Regions from separate parts of the Homo sapiens genome. Here region 1 is linked to region 2. The links are contacts of gene promoters, found by promoter capture Hi-C in human tissues and cell types (Jung and others, 2019). All regions are on one chromosome and are shown on one strand. The core of a region is centred on a gene start or on the middle of the fragment in contact, and the rest is flanking DNA. Distances in the headings are between cores, read along the strand shown.

What was found. The method cuts DNA at HindIII sites, captures the fragments that hold promoters and counts their contacts. A contact is called where the count stands out against the background at its distance.
Region 1: a contact is called between a fragment that was not itself captured here and the fragment with the promoter of DMRTA2 in region 2, in 1 of the 25 tissues and cell types used here (IMR-90 fibroblasts).

The regions. Positions count from the first base shown.
Region 1 is chr1:50,698,649-50,705,239 of GRCh38, forward strand. The region is part of intron 7 of FAF1 (Fas associated factor 1); the gene reads right to left. Among named protein-coding and RNA genes, the nearest start is that of FAF1, 260 kb to the right of the region's middle. RefSeq lists enhancers at 875-2,466, 932-1,597, 1,598-2,262. The HindIII fragment of the contact is 3,610 bases long and covers 1,206-4,815 here.
Region 2 is chr1:50,418,536-50,425,632 of GRCh38, forward strand. It overlaps DMRTA2 (DMRT like family A2), which reads right to left and starts at 4,908. Exons shown (of 3, transcript NM_032110.3): 1 at 4,581-4,908; 2 at 2,443-3,009; 3 at 1-1,199. The coding sequence starts at 3,001. The coding sequence ends at 130. It overlaps LOC105378714 (a long non-coding RNA gene), which reads left to right and starts at 5,011. Exons shown (of 3, transcript XR_947325.3): 1 at 5,011-5,362; 2 at 5,903-6,066; 3 at 6,305-6,337. RefSeq lists enhancers at 1-518, 519-1,468, 2,704-3,203 and a silencer at 6,031-6,090. The HindIII fragment of the contact is 21,358 bases long and covers 2,517-7,097 here.

The DNA of each region.
Region 1 (6,591 bases), core at 1,761-4,260, 280 kb after region 2:
AATTCATTAATGCCTCATTACTTACAAATTTCATTGTATATTTTGCTGGTGGAAGGTTTGGGAATTCTCCTTATATCCCTCCTCACCCTATAACTTACATTTCAATGAGCACTCCCAAAGTATGAGTACATTAATATGAATCAAATTTTATTTTAAATATATAAAAGGCATGCTACCTTCTTAAATGAAGTCTTTAAGAAATAAAAAAGATTTTTGGGGTTGCTTGTGCATTTCTGTGTTTTATTTTCTAAAAATGTAATTAAAACTTATTGACATAAAAAGCTTATTGATGCAATATGCCTTTTAAAATATAAATTCTAGACATTAATTTGAAGAGACGATACAAACTTTAAGAAGACTATGAAACATTTACAATTATCATGATGAACTATTGGTATGATTTTGTTGTATTCTTTGATAATAGCTATAATTAAAATTAAAATGAACATGGTGGCGGTAATATATGCCATCAAACAAAAGTAAACAATGCCACTAAAATATATCACAAGAATTAAATTTAGAACTACAAAAACATAAAAAGCAGGTGATGTATATTCCTAAATTTGATTCCTTGTATCCTAACCCACATAGTTTACAATAAGAACTAATTATTTCACAGTCTTAGTATTCCAAATTACAGTACTATACATGAACAGCTTTAAGGATAAGGAATAACTATAAATTTGTACAAACTGGACAGGTTTTTTTAATCTCATAACTTTGGTTAATAATCAGAATTATGACAACAGAACTGTGTGAAAATATTGTTTGAAAGCATATTCCAAAGTAAGATTATTAATTATACAACTGCAATTCACACTTAATGTACTTTATTACATTACATATTTTTATAGGACCATCTAGAGATTTGCAAAAAATGGTTGGCTCAAATAAATGGTTCTCTTTTAAGTGCATTTTATCCCTTTAGGTTCACACAATAACAGCAATATATTTTTAAAGTATATATTTTACTCAAAAAATACATAAGTAAGTCAGAAACCAAAAGCTAACAGATGTGTGACTTCTAATTAGTTATAATAATCTCTGCTTCAATGCCATTAGAATGAGCCTTCCTTTTCTTTTGAAAACTAAAAAAGCTTTCCTTTGAATTTTAAACTGTCAGGGTGCTTCAAAGTCAATGTACAAAATCTGCTTTGATTAAAATTTTAGACATCTACAGTGATAACTTTATGAAAGGAAAATATTAAATTATAATTATCCTAAACAGACACAGTCTTGTGAAACTAACCCTACATTCATGTTAAAACACAAAGAGTTGAATATAATGAATTTGATTCATCCTCGGACACAAAGCTTCACCACAGTAAACTCAGTCAACTGTTGCTCTTGCGCCTATATTCATGGTGCTTAAATAGCGCACTTTAAAACAAAAAAAACTCCAATTGGCTTTTCATACATCCACCCTCCCCAAAAATAACGCACTTGAAAAACTCAAATGATATGAAAGGCTTCAAGGCCTCTTTTCTCCCTTTCATACCCCCCTTTTTTTTTTTATTTCTGTTTGCAGTAATCTGCCTTTCTCTTTCTCATTGCTACAGAGCAAGCGAGGAGGCTCAGAGCTTTGAAAAGGGGGCTGTGTGTAATGGGTCCACTAGAATTAATTTACTTGCACCAAATCCATTGAGCACAGAGGTTCTTTTCCCCCCTCTCTCTCTCTCTTCTCAAATCATTTGGAGTCGAACGCAGCCCCCGGCCTTTGTAATTCTAGTAAAGCACTTAAAGTGCACAGTAGGTGTTCATGAGGACCATCTGGTCAAAAGCAAAACAAGCTGCTGATTTTGCCTTTGAATAGAATGAAGCAAGTGTGAATTAGTCTCTTCAATTAGCACTATTACAACCTGTCAAGTGCATATTGTAAAACAGGATTATTACAGTATTGGTCACCAGTGCAATTATTTACTCTCTGCCTTTTCTTGCATATAAAAAAATCTTATGTTTATTAGTTTCTGATAACTGAACGGAATTTCTCTTAACCCAGGCATTTCAAAACTACCAACACATAAATCACAGATGATGAAATGTGGTCAGCTATCATGTTTGATACACATATCTTAAGTAACAAAAGGCTAAAGACTGTTCTTAATTCTTAAAATGTCATTGCTTCTATCGTCTTGAAATGCAGGTAGACAAATACTTATATGGGCCAAAAAAGATATCCAATCCAGATTATTCTAAAATAGTTCCAGAGAGGGGAAAAGACTTGTCAGTTCCAAAGAGCTGCATTATAAATATTAAATTTATTACTTCAGGGGATAATTTGTTAAGAATCACAGGAAACCTCAATATTTATAAAATGATCCCTACTGATTTATATTCATTTGAAGTGGTATGATTTCAACAGATCTCAGTTTTCAAATGCAACTTGAAACTAATAATATATATGCATATTTAAAAGATGCATAATCGTCTTTTCTGAAAGCTGAATAAAGGCTTGAATTCACTGCCCAGTTGCAGAAGAAATTATCTCTTTCATTCTTGCTAAAATGTCATTCGTGATTTCAAATTTTAAAAAATCAAACTATAATATATGTTAATTAAATTGGTTCATTCTAATTGATCCAATATATGCCATTTATCTTGCAGTAAAAACAAACCACTTACACTTTTAATTAAATAAGCACACAACTTAATTTACCCTCTTGCATATGCACATTCTCAGTTACCCTACTCTTACTTCAGTTCTGTGCCAGCAACCCCAACCCTCCCCATACTGGAAAACAAAACAAACAAACCAAAAAAAACACCCAATACTTTAAAACATTTACAGAAAGGCCATGTTAGTTAAGGAGTTATAGTCAACCCACTACTAGAACATCAATAATTAGCACAATCTGTGAAAGACTACATATTTTAATTACTGTTACTGGCCACCAGCATTAAAGGAGAATAGTCCAAAATATACGCTAGTCAAGCAAGTTAAGAAAGTAGCAAGTAGAATAATAGACACAACATACAAAATCCGACGTTAGGTTCAAATGCTCAGAATCAGAGTTAGCCTTATCATTATTTAGCCCAGATTATTTTTAAGGATTGGTATAATCTGTGTATTTAGTTCATTCAGTTCCTGAGACTTATTCAACTCTATTGGCTTCCCATTTAATCACTACTTTGTACAAACTGTAATAGTACTGAAATGTTTTACTACTCCCTGCAAGATATATCTTTATAGGTTGCCAATTTTCCCCTTTCATGCCATTAAGAACTAAATCAACAATAATAAGAACAGTGAGATTTCTGAGGTAAAGTGAAACTTGGAAGAGGATTTAAATAATTCCAATAGCTATTCATCATGCTTCTTGTTGTAACAGATAAGTAATACTCCATAATTCTGCACTAAAAATACTTAGGTTTCTTATTGTTATTCTGGGTCATGTGTATATTCCTTAAATTTATATGACATCTACAAAGAAAACAATATTTTGCCTAACAGAAGCTTCTGCAGTAGTAAGGCCGATAACAAAGAATCAGTTTCCAAGAAAAGTTGGCTTGATTTCAGAGACTTCATATCCTTTTCCACACCTGGGTTTTGGATTTGCTGAAAGCAAATCAATCTTTTTTCCCCTTAATTTAACCCACCCCAAGTGCATTTGTAACCACAGATCTTTAATAGTATTAGTGAGAATTACTAGAATCTGCACAATAAACTGTTGACAAATCTGAATTCTCAGCGTAAAAAAAATTCATTAAAATAAGGTAAGCCTGTTTAAATTTAAGGAAACTCACAATTTTAAAGTGTGACAAATAGTTAATTTAGGACCCAAAAAGGTTGAAAAGACAGACTATCACAGAGTTACTGTCACATTCTTTGATATTTTTTACAAGCTGTTTGGTCATAATGGAAAACAGAAAAGATTTTTCGTCTTTAAGACTACTTGCAACTCTCTCCATTCTGACCTTTTTATACTGTCACTGCTTTCTCCCCAACCAGGAGGATAATGTAACTGGAAGGATTTGTACAGAGTTTTAAAAAAACAAAATCAAAATGAAAACCCTCAATAACTAACTGGCTTAAATTAAAATCTAGAGCACCTAAAGGACACAAGTCACGCATTGTGAGGCAGCAGACCACAAAGCCAGAATGAACAAACACTTGTACAACTCTTGGTTTATCACCATTAACTTGCAATGACCATATGGTCATTGAATAGTTTATTTGAAATTCAAACTGCATTTTAGTTCTATTTTCTAACTCAGTATTTTAAAAAAATGTACTTTGTTCTAATTAAAAGTTGAAATCATAGTGCCTTTTTCAATCCTGTTTCATTTAATAGAAATTTCCCTCTGGGTGAAAAATAGTGCAAAGTTTTCTTTTAAAAATGCAAGGCTTTCAAAAATTAAAAAAAATATATATATAAAATACACTAAAAAAATGACCAGGAACCTTTGTGTTTTGAACATTTTTTCCTTTCCCTCAATTATATTAGTCAGGATTTATTCTTGGACCTATTAATACTGAAAAGAAATTCCTGAAACTGGTGAGATAGATTAATTTACAATTTAGCACATATGGTATCATTAAGCTTTCACATTAATAAAAGACAAATACTAGCATTATAAAATAAAACTACAAAATAGTTTCACAATTATATTTTTATCTTGATGCAATCAAACTAACTTTCCAATCATGCAACAAGAAAAAATGTACATACTTAAGTGTCATTGTGGATTGAATAGCTGTAGATAAGGGCACCTTGTCCTTCACCTGAAACTACCCCCTCCATCACAGGTGTTGCACAAGTTGAAGCAGAAAAGTCACAGAACTAGGCCCAGAGAGGTCCCACATCCTTTATCTAAGTTGTACAGAATAAAACAGCCTATGTGTACCTGTCTACTCACAGAGAAGCAAGTGACATAAGTAGCAACTGCATTTATTTGTTCCTGGCAAACTAGCATTTAAAAATATTATTTTAAATTAACTTAAAGGGAAAAAAAGGAAAAAGGAGAAGAAACCAAATTCTTGACAAGAAATACATAAGAATATCTGTCTTTGCAAAAATATTTCTGGAACATTTTTAAAATGACATTTAGAAAATGGTATAAAAAAGATTTACTGTTTTAAGTCCTTGAAGCTTAAGATATATTTGATAATCTACATAGCAGGCCACGGAGAACAGTTTCAGCCAACTGTGGCACACAATGGCACATTTACAGAATTTTAAATATTTCTTTTAATAATTGATGTAGTCATTTTGAATCATTCTGCATAGGATATCAGGTGTGAGCAGATTGCATTAACGCTGCTTAAACATTTCAACTTGTCAGTATGGCCAACTCGATTTCGGAAATATTTGCAGTATTTTCCCATCGAAACAGTAATAAAGGCAAAATAAATATATGCCACTACTTTATAATCACCGAACATTAATGAATATTTTATGTCTTTTTAAATCTCCCTGTTTAATTTAAAAGGGTGAAATTAAGTCTCCTCCCTGCAATATGCCAATTATCTGTAAATCAAACAATAACTTGGCCATTATGCTCCTTTTTGTTAATATAAGAGAAGCTAATTTGAAAACACTGAATAGCATTTTTAGGCTATCTGCTGAATAGTCCTTTCTGCCCTCTTGTGGGAGAAAGCTGAAACACACTCAAATAACAGAAACTAGGGGTGGGGGTTGAGAGGGTGGCAGCAAAATTATGGCTAGAAAATTCAACCCCGAAGGAAAAAAAGGCAAACTATATTTATTCATCATACATTATACTATTCTTCAATTATCAAGTCAGCAATAAAATGAATTTACCTCTTATCTTTGTCATGTTGGTTAAACTGAAGTTATTTTAAATCTAAATTTCCTTGTTTCATATATTCACATATACAATTTAGATTTTACTATCCTGTAAAATTTCAGATGCTATAATAACTCGGAGATGGAGCCACGGCAAAACATTATTTCTACCATAAAAACACAAATGATTCTTCAAGGAATTAAGTTTTTTAATTTAGAGAATAAAATACTCATTATGGAGGTTGAAAATGAAATTACAATTTATACATATTTAAAATCCTGAAAAAAAATTAAATAACGCAAACCTACAATTCAGTTTAGGAATCAGATCAGAAAAAAATTTTAAAGAGTTTAGTTTCTAGAGTCAACAAACTATTCAAGTAATCAATGAAGAAAATAAAGCAATGAGTTATTCATGTCAAATTCAGAAGCTGAAATTCATTAACACAATATAAAAAAGGAAACCATTAATAGTCTACAGAAACAGTTCATATATTTCTGAAAGAAAACACTAGGGTGAAAACTGGTTCTTTCAAAATGACATTAAGTGATTATTTTAAGAAATGTAGTCTAAGAAAAACATTATAAAATAATCCAAGATTAAGCATGATTAATTCTCTTTAGAAAAATTAGTAGACAAATGACTGTTGCTTTCATAACTTATAAGGTGTAATGCAACATAGTCATCATTTCAATGTTTCTAAACATAAGTCCTGTCATAGCCTTAAATGTTCCCCCCACCCTCCATGAAGATAGAATTACTAGCTTTTAGGTGGCTGGGGCCCAAGGCATACCAACAAGGTACCTCTTCTCTCTTGGGGGAGGTTCTCTTTTGAAACAGTGG
Region 2 (7,097 bases), core at 3,658-6,157:
AACCACCTTAGAGTGAGAAGACGCCCAGCCAGGGCGCAGAGAGAGCGCTGGGCGAAGAGGGGTCGATGGCCCGCGGGAACAGGGCTGGGGTTCCTGTTTGGGGACCGGCCGGCTGCCAGGCCCCTCGCCCTACTGCTTCTCCGGAGCGCCGTTGACCATAGGCCCGTACAGGCCGCCGCCGTAGGTCGGCTCCTTGTGCACCGCCGCAGCAGCGGCGGCCGAGCGGTCACGCATGAGATCGCTAAAGGCGTAGTCCATGGGTGGGCGGAAGCCGAGCGTGGGCACCAAGCCGGCAGTGGAGTAGGGCGCCATGAAGGCCAGACCGCGGCTGTGCGCCGCCGCCGCGGAGTAGGCCAGGCGCAGGGGGCTGAGGCCGAGCGGCGCGCCCAGCGGGTAGGCGCCCGCGTCGGCACCGAAGTGACTGGCGTTGGGCTGCAGCGGCGAGAAGGCCGAGCGGCTGCTCAGCGAGCCCAGCGCCCCAGGCGCCATGGCGCCGGCCAGCAAGGGTCTGTGGTGCGGAGGTGCGGCGGGCCCCGCCTGCAGCGGCGCAGGCAGCCCAGGCCCCCCGGCGGCGGCGGCGGCGGCGGCGGCGGCGTCGACGCGGCTGGGCCACGCGTCGTCTGCAGCTGCTGCAGCACCCACGGCGGCCTTATCTGGGGGCGCCGCAGGGCCCAGGCCGGCCGCCAGGCCCCCACGGTGGTGGTTCAGCACCTGCTCGATGGCCTGCACCACGTCGCCGCCGCAGCCCTGCAACACCAGCTCCAGGACGCCTCGCCGGTGGCCTGGGAACACGCGTGTCAAGATATCCAGCGGCGTCCGCTGCCGTGGACCCGAGCCTCCGCCCAGCCCTGGCGCCGGCGCGGCCTCACCCTCTTCTTTGTCAGCCTCTGAACCGGATTCAGAGCCCAGAGGGCTAGCGGAGCCCGGGCTGTCCTCCTCGCCGCCGCCGCCAGGGCCAGCGCTGCCTGGGCAGCTGCCACCTGCCTCTTTGGAGGCCCGAGCTAGGGGCGAACCAGAAAAGGACTCGCCATCGCCGTTCTCCGAGCCTGAGCCGGGCCGCACCTCTGGGGACGACGTCCCGGGCCCCGAGTCTGCGCCGTCGGGTGATAAGGGCTTCACCGGCGGCGGCAGCGGGCTGCCCGGGCGGCCTGCCTGCAGCAGCGTCTTAGGAAACAGGTCAAACTTCTGCAACTTGGCCTCTGGGAGGGGAGAAAACGTGTCGTGAGGAGCGGTTAGCTAGAAGACAGCAGTCACAGCACCTCGGCCCTTTGGATCTCAGTTTCCTCTCCCTCAGCCCCACAGCCCTTATTCACTAGGCTCCAGTGCCCCTCTTTCTTTTTGCTCTAGCATTCCTTCCGCTCTGAGCCCCTACAGCCCTGACCCCAGGGCTCCCTCTCTTTCTGTACTCCTCAGAACCCCAACTACCTGTGCCCTGTAAACTCGATGTTCAGTGCTGCTTTCCCCACGTCTGTGCCCCAACACCTCCACCCTTAACTGCCCTTCCAGTCCTGCCCTGCCGTGGAGAAGTGGCCAGGTCCAGGGTTCAAACAAGAGACAACATAACTTCTGCCTAACCACGCTGTACAGAAGAGCCCACTGTATAGAAAATGCCTGCCCTGGCAGTGCAGCCTGTAAGGAAAGGCGCCTTGGTTATCTAGGAGGTCCCAAGCTTCTCTACAGGCAGAAGTACAGCCCCTGTTTCTAATCCACCCTTTCCAAAATTGAGACCTGAGAAGTTCTTCCCTCCCAAGTTTAGAGCGGATCCCTCCTTTCCCTCAACGGCTCTGGCCTAATTTCTTCCCTCCCCACAAAAAGCCACGGGGGTCCAGAAAAAGAGGGTGGTGCTAGGCAGGCAGTAGGAAGCGAAGAGGAAAAGACATAGGAAAGCAGACCTGAGAAACCAGGGAGGGTGCGGAAGAAACTAGAAGGAGGGAGGGCGCAGCAAGCGGTTGTCCAGAGGGCGTTAGGAACGCGAGAAGGGGAAAAGAAACTAGGGCGTCTCAGAACCTAGGGCGTCTCAAAACCTAGGGTGTCAGTTAAAGGGGGGGGGATTCCTTAAGGGAGTTGGGAAGGAGCAGAGGGAAAGGGCCTGTGGAGAAGCGCAGAGCGAACGAAGATGCGCAGGTTTCCACCTGGGGAGAAGACGAAGCAAAGAAGCAGGGACCTGCCTGCGTTTGGGTAGAGGCGAGTAAAAAAATTAAAGCGTGTACATTTCGGCCCGATGCAGGAGAAAGGGGTAAAGTGCAAATGCTCCAGAAGCGGGAGAAAGGAGAGTTTCTGTACCCACGCTCCATACCCGAGGCTGGGCGAGCGGTGAACCCTAGCAGTCGCGGCGACTGGACACGGGGGTTCTACTCTTTCTGAACCGAGACAAGCCCCTGGGCCCCGTGCCCCAGAGCTACGATCCTGCTGCCCCTACCTGCGGCCTGGCCGCGCTCTCACCTGAGCCCCCTGCGCCAGCTGCTCCGCCTCCGGTCCCCGCGGGCGCTCCCGCTCCAGGTCCCCCGCCGTCGGCGGCGCACACTGAACCGAAGACCTCGTAGGCGGGCCTCGGGGGGATGATGCCGTTGGCGGCGGCCAGCGCCAGCCCCTCGGCAGTGCCGTAGAGCAGCTGCAGCTCGCGCGCCTCGTTCTCCTCCTGCGCCTGCTGCCTGCGCAGCGCCACCTGCGCCGCCATGACACGCTGGCGCTCCGCGATGAGCGTGCACTTGGCGCACAGGCAGTCCTTCCAGCGACAGTAGCGTTTGTGGCCCTTGAGGGCCGACACCACGCCATGGTTGCGACAGCGCGCGCACTTGGGGGTCCGCGGGTACTTCTCGGCTGCCCGCAGCAACAGTGGCGGCCCCCGCAGCAAGCCGCCTGCCACGCTCACCGGTAGCGATGCAGCGGCCGCCGCGGCTGCCGCCACCGACGCCACCGACGCCACAGGCGGCCCCGTCGCTGTTGCCGCCGCCGCCGTCGCCGCGCCGGGCACGCTGGGCAGCTCCGAGCGCAGCTCCATGACAGGACCTGACGGGAAAGAAGGTGGGAGAGGGGAGAGACCTGGTGAGGAGCACACCGCGCGCTAGGCCAAAGCGCCGCCTTGAGGAACCCAAGCTGGAGAGGGAAATTTGGGCCGCGGAGGCTGGGCTAGAGGGGCCAGAATTGCTGGGAGGAGGTGCAGTCGGAACCTCCTTGTGAGCCCTAGCACCTTCACCCCAGTCTGGCCATGGCTGCTCTTAGACCTGATATACACGCTAGGGGTAAGATTTTGTCTGAATTAGTGATTCCGCTGGAAAAAATAAAGAGACATGTAAAGTGTGAAAGTCACTGATTCAGATGGCTGTAATGAGAATTTGGAAAAGTTAAGATGATACCCCAAAGCTTAGCCTAATTGGGGTGAGACGGGTGAGAGAAATGCTCGTTTGACGGGACTGGGATTAGAGCGACAGTTTTGGCCCAGAAGTTAGGCTGATGCCAAGGGCAAAACAGGAAAACCCGGAGCAAAACGGTCAGTTTGGTGGAAGGGTGAAGAGGAGAGAGATGTGAAGGCGCAGATGTGAAGGCCGGTTGGGCCGGAGTTTTGTTTCTTTTTGTTTGTTTATTTTTAATGCAGTTTGGGGCAGAAGCTTTGGAGAGAAAAATCAACAACAGAAAGAATAGCTTTAGGAAGCAGAGTGAGGACGAGGAAACAACTTGGGCAAAGTTAGGCCCAGTGGCTCTGGGACCCGTAAAAATGTGAGCGCCAAAAGTTCCACGGTGAGGGCCTCCAGAGAGTGAGAGACAAAATGTATGTGGAATTTAGCTTAGGACTGGGAAGTATTAAAGAGAAAAATTCGGCCAAAGAAACTTTCTGTATAGGCAAACCCAGCCCAAAGATGAGCTTCATGGGCAAGGAAAACAGTGAAAAGCAGCTGATCTGGGTGTCCGGGATCCAGGGGCCGCGCCTGGGAGAGGGGAATGTGTAAGAAAAAACCCCACAGGCAAATGCTGGGGGAGGGGATTGGGTAAAACCTGTGGTGCAGTTTTTTAGCTTCGCAGTCTGGAGTAGTAGTCGGGGCGGAAGACGTATCCTGCGAAAAGTTAGGCATTTCGGGAGGGGGATCTTTCTCGAAGACCACCTCACACTGCCCTCCCCTCCCCTCCGGGTTTAGGGACAGAGTCGTCAGACACGCCCTCCCCGTCTTGGGGTCCCAGGGGACCCCTCTCGAGCGCAGGCTCCTGCGTTCTGATCTCAGAGTTGGGGTCCTAGGACACGGATGGCCCAGCAGGCCGCACCAAGCCAGGGGAGTCGCCTTCGCAACTGGCCATAAACGGACACCAGAGTCCCTCCCACGCCGCAGCCCCATAAGGCCCAAGCAGGCCCAGCTCCCCGCTTCTGCCGCGGTCTCCTCTGCTTCCCGCGTTCCCCGTCCCTGCCAGAGCCCGCGACAGAGTCCTTGTGTCTCCGTCCGAGAGTCCCAGACCTCCTCTCTATGAGCGTTGCCTCCTCTCCCAGACCCTTCGGGCGTCCCTAAGGCCCACGGGGCCCAGGCCTCCTCAACAGGGGCCGCAGACCAGGTCTCCACCCACTGCTCTCCCTGCGGCCCTCAACTACCTGCCTTGGGCTCCGGGATCCTCCTCCTCCGCTGGCGCTGCACGCGCCTCCCGGCTCCACTGGCGACGCTGGAGCTCTTGGCCGCTTCCCTTTGCCCCCGGCCCCTTATCTGACCACGTCACCCTCCTTCAGTCACCATGTCCGAACTTCCGGACCCCTCAGAACGCAGCGCAGTCCAACCCTCCCTTCAGAAATCCGGGTCGGAGGCTCGTCTGCGGGCCGCGTGGTTGGAACCCGCGACCTGACTCTCGCCGTGCCGGGTCCCCTCGCGGTGCGCGCCGGACGCTGCGCGCAGCCGGGGCCCAGTTGCCCGGCGCTGCCAGACTCTCAATGAGCCGCTCGCCCGCTCTATTGTTGGTCCTTAGGGCTCCATTAGACAGAATTGGACAACAATGTGGCGCCTGCCATTGGCCAGGGGAGGCAGACGGCGCTCTGATTGGCCGGGCCCGCGCCCGGGGAGCCCCGCATTCTGCAGTGTCCGAAAGATTCGAAACTCCAAAAGCTCCACTGCGTGCCTCTGGGAGGGGAGGGGGCGCGCCAGGAAAGGAGTGGAAAAAAGTGGGCGAGGAGGAGCGTTGAAAATTTCCTGACAAGTAGTTTCCGTGCGCCCGAGAGCGTGTGAATTGCTCCTAATTACCGTGTCCGGTGCGCCTCTCTGCGTAGACTTGTGTAACCTCTCGGCTTCTGGGGCGCCGGCTCGGCTGCACCGCTCTTACTGGCCTGGGGCGCTTGGCAAAGCCGAGCTTCCCAAGTGGCTCTGGAGCCCTGAGGCGGGATGGGGGGCAGGTGACAATTCAATTACTGCGGTCGGGGTAGGGGCGGGACAAGGGTGCGGGGGTGGGGAAGGGAGGGTGTTCAAGGCATAAATGCCAGGACGATTTTTCCTGCCTTCTTCCTGCTATGTTTCGGCGCGCTCCCAAATCCGACGAGTTTGGGGTAGTTGGGGGCTGCTTTGGTTTTTTCCTCCTGTCTCCTTAAAGCTCAGTTACTTTATTTTAAAAGTCCTGATACGATAGTCATCCTGGAGGGTAAGTGTGGTTTATGAAGATTTTCGTGTTTAAAGAGAAGCTCAGCGAAGAGAAATGAGATTGCACTTCCTGTCGGTGCCCGCCACGTCCCTCGCGCCCTGAGCCTTTCCTCTCCCCGCCCCTCTTTTCGCGTCCCTCAGCCCCTTTTGAGCTCTCTTTTCCTCACTTTTCAGCATCTCGATTTCTTTTCCGTGGTGGTGGGATTCTTTTTGTCGTTATTGCAAATGAACAAATAGCCCCCCCCCCTTTTTTTTTCTTTTCTAAACGAAAGTAAAAAGTGGCCTCTGTGTCTCCGCAGATTCTCTTAAACTCAGGACGCGCATCGGTCTGTCCGACCTTCCCGGCAAGAGACAAAGTCACTGCTGGGAGGCCCCCTCGGACAGTTTTCAGTTTTAACTTTCGCCTTATTCTCGTCTTGTCTTGATGTCACGGCCCTGAGGAACAGCTCGTTCTGCAGAAGAGGTAACAGGTTTCAGATTTTGTTTCCTTTTTGAAAGGCTGTTGCCTTTCAAACATCTGGAATTAATGCCGCGGCCCTCGGGCGAGTCGCCCTCGGTTTCTGTAGCTCTGATTTTATCTCTGTGTCTTTTCCCCTCTAATTTCTAAAGTTCTGTTTTTCCCTCTAATTCTGTTTTTCCCTCTAATTTCTAATGTTCTGTCACTCTCGTTTTTGTTCTCTACTTTTCTCTCTCTCCTTCAGAATAAAGAAAATTCGTTTAAATAATGAGGAAAATGAGCGTTCCTGTCGTTCTCCCTCCACTCTTGACCGTGCGTCTCTGCGTTGCTCTTTCGAACCTCCAGGCCGGCGGGAATCTGGGCGCGCAGACTCGGCCCGGGTCGTCGCGGCCTCAGGACGCAGCCCATTCCGCCTGGCACGACTACTGGGCCGCGTCTTGTCAGTCTATCAGCTTCTGAGCCCAGGAATGGGGGTGGGGGAAGGACGGTGCGACTAACGGGCCCCCACCCGAAGACCGCAGAACCTGGCGCCCCGGAAGAGCCCTGGAAGATGCCCACCGGGAGGCTGAGGCTGGAGGGAGGAGTGGGTGGGGGTGATTCGCTGGAGGACCGGGCGGAGAGCTTCCAGAAAGTTCACCAGGCCCCGGCGCGAGGGCGCTCCGACACGGACAAGGTCTATGATAGCGATAAAAAGCTGGTTACTCGCTCCCAGAAAATGCCACTTGCTGGAGTCTGTGAATGGGTTTAGGAGAGAGAAGGGTGTCAGCCCCCGCGAGGGTCTCCCGCGTGAAGTGAGGATAAGGGAGTGCTTCAGGGATAATATGTCCTCTAGGAGCGCAGGACCCAGACCCCACCTTCCAACACCTGGAGGTTCCGAGGCCAAGTATGTCTAGCCCCGGCTGCACCTGGGTAGGTGAGCCATGGGGTCGGGGGAAGAGCGCCGACAACCGCCGGATTCCGCGCAGGGGCCGCCAGGCGCCTGCTCCCAGAGCTCCTTTGGACAAAGTTTTCGGGAAATTCTATTAAACCGAAAACGA